Regions from separate parts of the Homo sapiens genome. Here region 2 is linked to region 1. The links are contacts of gene promoters, found by promoter capture Hi-C in blood cells and fetal thymus (Javierre and others, 2016). All regions are on one chromosome and are shown on one strand. Each heading gives the region's core, a stretch centred on a gene start or on the middle of the fragment in contact. The rest is flanking DNA. Distances are from core to core; before and after follow the strand shown.

Region 1 (3,564 bases), core at 769-3,268:
GGTGGTATGAGGCAAGGTCAGAAAGATGGATAGGATCCTGTACTACTAAAAGGAGCTTGATTGAAGGAGTCTGAATTATAATCTAAGTATAATGGAATCATTTCAGGTTCTAAGCAGGAGGTAATATGATTTGAGACAGCTTTAAAAACATTAATCCAGATGCTTGTTCAAGAATTACTTATAGGCTGGTTGCGGTGGCTCAAGCCTGTAATCCCAGCACTTTGGGAGGCCTAGGCAGGAAGACTGGCCCCAGGAGTTCGAGACGAGCCTGGGCAATATAGTGAGACCTCATCTCTACAAAAGTAAAAAAAATAAACAAATAAATTAATAAAATAATATAAAATTTGCCAGGTATAGTGGTGGGCACCCATAGTCCCAGCTACTCTGGAAGCTGAGGTGATGGAATCACTTGAGTCCATGAGGTTGCAGTGCGCCATGATTGCACCACCGCACTCCAGCCTGGGTGACAGAGTGAGATCCTGACTCAGAAAACAAAACAGCAACAACAACAACAATAGCAAAAACAGAAAAGAATTACTTATAAAGGGGCAAGAGTGGGAGGGGAGGGACTAGTTAGGGTGCAAATGCAGAGACTGAAGATAAAAAGACTCTAAAGACTCATAACAAATCTCTTTAATGGTTAAAGAGAGTTCATTGGGGGAAAGAAAGCTGAATTTATTTTAATAATGTCCCCATTTTCGGTAACATATATGCTACAAAGTCAATTATTTTATTGTTATTTGGTCACAGGTAGAGATAACGGTGTGGCTGTGGATTAGCAATTACATACACCTCCGTTGCACATTTAAAAAGGCATTTTGTTGTTGCTGCAAGAAACCACTATGCAGGGCTTTTGGTCCTCCCTAAAGGAGAGAAACGGTATCTAGGAAATTAATTCTTCTCTCAGGCCCAAATGCAAAATTGCAGAAACCACTTGCTAAATATGGTCAGCCATTTTTAAGAGTCCAGAGAGTCTTTTCTCAGGCGTACTTTATTAGAGGCCATTGATCAGTTTCTACCGATTATTATAGTTAATTGAAGGGAAATCTGCGACTATGGCTATTTATTGGCATTTGCGTTCGGCTCAGACAGAAGCTAGTTTTGAAAGTGGTATCCGTAGAGTTATCCCGCTTGCACACTTCCTTGCCTAGGGGTGGTGGGGGAGCGCTGAGGGCTTGCGGGGTGTCAGCCACCAGGGCTTTCTGCTCATCAGTCAGCATCGTCAGACATCCTGGAAGTGTTATGATGGCGCTGAATGTAGAAAAAGGGTTCTCAGGGCGGATATATTGTCGTCATTCCTGGTGGCAGAGGGGAGTGACAAGAGGCTCACACGTCGCTGGGTAGTAGCACGCATAATAAAGTGTGGTTTGCACCATGTGTGCCACAGATTTCTCGGGTTTTCTGGAAGGCTTTTCCAAGTTCCGCCTTCTCCCCTTTAAAGCCATCCTGGCCCCAGCTATGCATCGGCCTTTGACTCCATCTGTCCTTCCGCTGCGGACGGGAGTCCCTCTCGCCAAATGGAGAACACAAGTTTGGCACCCCAAAGTGATGATAACCTCTACCCTCTTGGCTCAGCGCGAGCCAAGAGTCAGGCCTGCAGAGGGACGGTCAAGCGGATGGAGGGGGAGGCCGCGGAGAGGCCGCTCCTCTCACCTCCCCGCACCCATCATCACTTGGCACTTGGCCAAGCCCAGGCAGACGCCCCGCCTGCGCGTCCCCCACCCGCCCCGCGGTGCACGTCTCCCAGTGCTTTTGCATTTGCTCCTCTTCCGCCCTGCTGCAGAGCGCGGCTCGCAGGTTGGAGTTTGCCCTCGTGTGCGCCGCATCACACGGCAGGGAGGGGAAGGCAGGCGGCGGAGGCTGGGTCGGAGCAGGAGTCGCGCGGTCCCTGGCGCCCGGAGACACAGTGGGGAACCACCGCCCCGCCCCCGGAGCAGCGGACAGGGCCGCAGACCTCCCTTCCCCCCTCCCTCTCTCCCTCCTCCCCAGCGCCCTGACTCCCTGCCTCCACGCCCTTACTCCACCCCCTACTCCGGCCAGATCCCCATCCTCTCCTTGTGTGTGCGCGCTTCATATAATCTCCTCCTTTTTGGCAAAAGAAATAATGCACCTGACTTTACCAGGGGGGAACAACCAGCCGAGTAGAACAAGGAACAGATGTAAAGGGAATAAAAGGAGAGAGAAAAAGAGATGAGATTCGTTTAAAGAAATCCAGGGGCAGAAGAGGTGGCTGCCGCGGCAGAGGCAGCTAGAGCTTACTTCCCTGTCTGCGTGAGCTGCAGGCAGAGGACGCTTTCACCAGTTGCAGATGTAACCTCGGGAATTCCTGGGCCGTCGGTTTGTTTGCCAAACAAAGTCTTTTCTTCTCTGGCTCAGACACTGAAGAGGCTCCTGGATTTTTCTGCGATCCTGCCACAAGCTGGCAGTTACCCGAGAGCCTTCCCAAGGAGCTGGAGGAGAAATGAGCCCTTGTGGGCGGAAGATGGGCGAAGGGCGTCAGCAGCGGCGGGCTCCGGTCGGGAAGCTCCTTCTGCTCCCCGGGAGGAGAGATACACCCCATGGGCGGTCAGGCAGCAGCGGCGCCAGGACGCAGCGCTCCCTGCTCTGGCTCTTGGTGCACGTGTGGCTGTGGGCGGCCTCGGGCTCCTCTGCCCAGTTGTTCAACCTCACCCTTTCCGTAGATGAGGGGCTTCCCCCGGACACGCTGGTAGGTGACATCCGCGCCGGGCTGCCGGCCGCGCAGCAGCAGGAGGGGAGCGGCTTCTTTCTGTCGGAGGACTCCGATGACTCCCCGCTGCTGGACGACTTCCACGTGCACCCGGACACCGGCATCATCCGCACTGCGCGGCGCCTGGACCGCGAGCGGCGGGACCACTACAGCTTCGTCGCCGCCACGCTGCTGGGCGCTGTGGTGCAGGTGGAGATTCGCGTCAACGACGTGAATGACCACTCGCCCCGCTTTCCCCTCGACTCCCTGCAACTCGACGTCTCCGAGCTCAGCCCGCCAGGGACCGCCTTCCGCCTGCCAGTTGCCCACGATCCGGACGCCGGACTGTTCAGCACTCAGGGCTACACCCTGGTGCAACCGTCCGACCTGCCCAAGGACCCCGCAGGCCCGTTCTTCCAGTTGCGCTACCGGACTCCGGGGCCACTACCGTCACCGCTTTTGCCAGGCTCCTCGTCACCCCTGGAGCCTCTAGATCTGGTGCTGCTGCGGCGCTTGGACCGAGAGGAGGCGGCGGCGCACCGGCTGCAGATCGAGGCATGGGACGGCGGCCGACCCCGGCGCACCGGCCTCCTGAGCGTGGAGCTGCGCGTGCTGGATGAGAACGACAACCCGCCGGTCTTTGAGCAGGACGAGTACCGCGCCGCGGTGCGCGAGGACGCCCAGCCGGGCGCCGAGGTCTGTCGCGTGCGCGCCACCGACCGCGACCTGGGGCCCAATGGCTTCGTGCGCTACAGCGTCCGCGCCCGGCAAGTGCCTGGGGCGGGTAGCGGCGGCGGGGCACTGGGCGACGCGGCCTACTTCGCGGTGGAGGAGCTGAGCGGCGTGGTGCGAGTGTG
Region 2 (3,564 bases), core at 665-3,164, 140 kb after region 1:
ATAAGAAGGCATCTATTCAGAAGAAACTGTTTATGAAGGCAGCATTTTTCAATCTGCTAAACCTATATCATCTATAGATTTCTATTTTCAGTAATAATACCACTCTAAATATTTTTGTAATGTTTTTATTGCAGTTGCATTAATTTCTGCAATTTTTGAACTGTATTATAAAAATGGCAAGTATTTGAATATGCTTTCTAGACTACAACCCCCTCCAAATTTGCCCACACAACTCCTCTTTACACTCCCATTGAGAGTCTGTAGTGTAATCCCTTATTAGCATTTTCCTGACAAAAGGACCATCTTTTGGTACATACTTTATTGGAGTCACTTAAAAGCTTTTCCTTCAATTGCCCCCTTTTTCCCACCTGTTGTCCACCATTCCCCAAATCCCTCTGCTTCTCACTGGTCATGCTGAACATAAGACAAATCCGTCACAAATGCCATTGTCTAAATGAATCTTTTCATCACTAGAAGGCAGTTTCCTTGACATAGCTTTCATGTCAGCAAACCAGAACAAGAACTTCTTGAAGGCATGGCCAATGGGTGTCCCTCTTCCTGAACCTCTGGCCATCCCTTCTTTTCCTGCATTTTCCCTGAGATCTGACTTCTCAAATAATTTTTGAAACCTTGCACTTTTGTAAAGCTCATCTTTTTAATGGACACTAACCTATTGCTGTTGGTGAAAATAAAGGTCAAAAATAATATTAAAAGGATTTTCTGACATCTTCTACCTAAAGTTAATATTGGTAAATTTACTTTCCAATATACAAAATACATGTGATTATACCTTTTGTGATGAGATTGATAGCAAAAAAAATAGATGGTAAGTGTTGCCTAAAAATCAAAATCACAAATATAGAGATGTATAAATGGTTGCTGTGCAGTTATGGATATGTAGGTTGGCTTTAGAATAAAAATAAATATCTAAGATGTAGAAGATACCAAGTAGCAGGTATTTACATGGCTCTTACAGATGCAATGTCACTGTAAGCCAAGGCCTTGATTCTGTTTTGTGTGTCTGGGGACCAGTGTGTGCACATGACTCAAATCAGCCCCAGAAAGTAGTCAGTTGGCAAAGCATAGATGTACAGTTTCACCTTCAAGTTGAAAAAAAATTTAAAAAAAACTACAGATCTTCACAGATTGTTCTTTAATTATGTAGTCCTTTCTGCAGAGATATTTTCCAATGATTTGCTTGTTTTTGGTGCTAGTTGTTAGATGTATAATCTAAGTTGTGGCTTGTGATGAGAGCTTTCATGTTAAGGTAATTAAAATCAAAGAAATTCAGGGTAATATGTCTTGGAGATAAGAACAACTTTTTCAGAAAGTTATTGAACAGTCACCATGTGCTCATGCTACAGTTCTTTCTTTACTTGTGTCCTGTTAGCTGAGTTCCTCAGAGATCTGTAAGGTAGAGCCTACGCGTTTCCTTATGTTTCCAATGAAGAAGCAGTTGCTGAGAGAAGTTTCATGATTTCTATCAAGTAACACCAGTAGGTGGAGCAGCCAGGACCTGCTCACCTTATCACAATGGAAAATTTCAAATGAGCAGATTCCAGACTCAGAGATAGAACCAAGACTATAGAATGAAATGAAAGGAAGTGGAAGGCATTTTTATTTATCATCATTTCACAGGTATTTTATTTCTGGAACTAGCTATGCATTTTCTAACTTTTATTTTTCTAAAACTCCAAAATAAGGCTTCTGATTTATTAATTAAATAGTATTCATCAACTATCTGTTAATCGTAGCAACACGTTTAAATACATATCATGTGAATCAGCATTTGGTTACAACTGTCACACAAAAAATGCATGAGTTTTACCATAAAGGCTGTGATTTCCCTTAGTTGTTGAACCCTAAGTAGACATGAAAGGATAGTAATAATAGAAACAAAGGTTTAGTCATATTCACCATGTTTATAAAAATATTAGTTTGTGTCCATTGTCACAAATCCTCCCATGAAGTAAGGAGAAGGCAGAAATAATATGCTTTTGAAATACAGGGACATAGAAACACAGTCTGTAAATCATAATGAGTGTTGTTAAATAAAATTTATAGGAAGTCATTGGTTTGAACGGAGCTCCTGCGCTAGGCCCAACAGACCAGACCAAAATGGAGTCACTCACGCTAAAGTTTCATGGCCACCAAGCTGAAATGAAGTTGTCTATTTGACCTTCCAAGAAATCAGGAGAGAGAGGGATAATAAATAGCCAAACCCCCAAATGAGCCAATTTTAGCTGGCATGATAAGAAAGTCCCATCTGATTTAACCTTTACAAGGAAAGTAACTGTGAAATGACTTTTTGTTCCCTGTTTCTGTTTTCCTTTTCTGTCTATAAAGCCAGCCACTTCTGCTCAGCTCACTGGAACACATCGAGGTGTTTCTCAACTCTAGAATTGCAAATAAAAGCCAATTAAGATCTTTAAACTAAATTTGTTGTCATTTTGTCTTTTGGCAATATTTATTGAGCATTAACTGCCTGATTTAACTGTCATGCCAAACCTTTGATATAGGAACTAGTTTTATCTCCATTTCACAAATGAGCAAATGAATCCAAAAAAGATCAACAGCCCATAAACGTAATGAGAAAGTGACAACCAAAATGTGAACTGAGACAGTCTGGCTTCAGAGTTCCCACCTTACCATACGCCTCCTGCTGGTGTTCATGTCCTAGGGCTGCCATAACAAAGCACCACGCACTGGGTGGCTTAGACAGCAGAATCTCATTCTCTAACAGTTCTGGAGGCCAGAAGTCTGAAATCAAGGTGTCAACAGGATTAGTTTCTTCTGGAACCTCCCTTAGCTTCTGGTGTTTGTTGGTGATCTTTGGCACTCCTTGGTCTATGGCAGTGTTACTCTCATCTCTGTTTCCATTTTTGCATGTCCTTCTTTTCTGTGTCTTCTTGTGTCCTTCCTTGTGTGTGGACACCGGTCATTGGATTTAGGGCACCCTTAAAACCAGGATAATTTCCTCTTGAGATCCTTAACTAATTATATCTACAAAAACCCTTTTCCAAATAAGGTCATATTCTGAGGATCCAAGTGGACATAAATTTGGTGAGACATGATCCAACTTACTATATTACCTTTCTAAAATTATGTTATCTTAAAATAATACTCGATTCTTTTCTCAATTATTGCCAAATTTATGACCTTTCCATGGTACTCCCGCAACTGTGAGGACCACTGTCAGGTTCAGGTCTTCAAGGGTTTTGGGTTTTGCTTTAAGTAAATTATTTCCTTTAAACTGAATATTTAAATTAGTGTTATGTCTGTTGTTGGTGGTGCATTGGTGTAAATAGTGGTGTTCAGAGTTGATTCTCTCAAATGATCAGTGTTTCAAATGACAAAGTGAGAGAGAATAATAGTTAAGCCATCTGTGTCCACTGGAAATGTATTTGGGCCTCCCAAAAAGGGACTATCAGCCCACATCCCTGTTGCCAACTTGTGTCAGTATCCAGCTTTATAAAATCAGAAAGCTTTATTGAAAAGATTTTGAAATATTAACTTAGGGGAACACATTGTAAACCCCATGCAAACTATAAGAGTCTGCCACCT

Evidence for each region. Contacts are between HindIII fragments. The CHiCAGO score rates a contact against its expected background, and 5 or more counts as called.
Region 2: a fragment that was not itself captured here is called in contact with the fragment with the promoter of DCHS2 in region 1 in 1 of 17 cell types (naive B cells); the score reaches 6.2 in naive B cells.

What each region holds. Positions count from the first base shown.
Region 1 is chr4:154,490,253-154,493,816 of GRCh38, reverse strand. DCHS2 (dachsous cadherin-related 2) reads left to right here and starts at 2,018. Exons shown (of 20, transcript NM_001358235.2): 1 at 2,018-3,564. The coding sequence starts at 2,462. RefSeq lists enhancers at 1,588-1,637, 2,440-2,619, 2,670-2,809, 2,278-3,233, 3,234-3,564. The HindIII fragment of the contact is 6,491 bases long and covers 1-3,564 here.
Region 2 is chr4:154,347,970-154,351,533 of GRCh38, reverse strand. All of the region lies in intron 3 of DCHS2 (dachsous cadherin-related 2), which reads left to right. Among named protein-coding and RNA genes, the nearest start is that of DCHS2, 140 kb to the left of the region's middle. The HindIII fragment of the contact is 3,147 bases long and covers 341-3,487 here.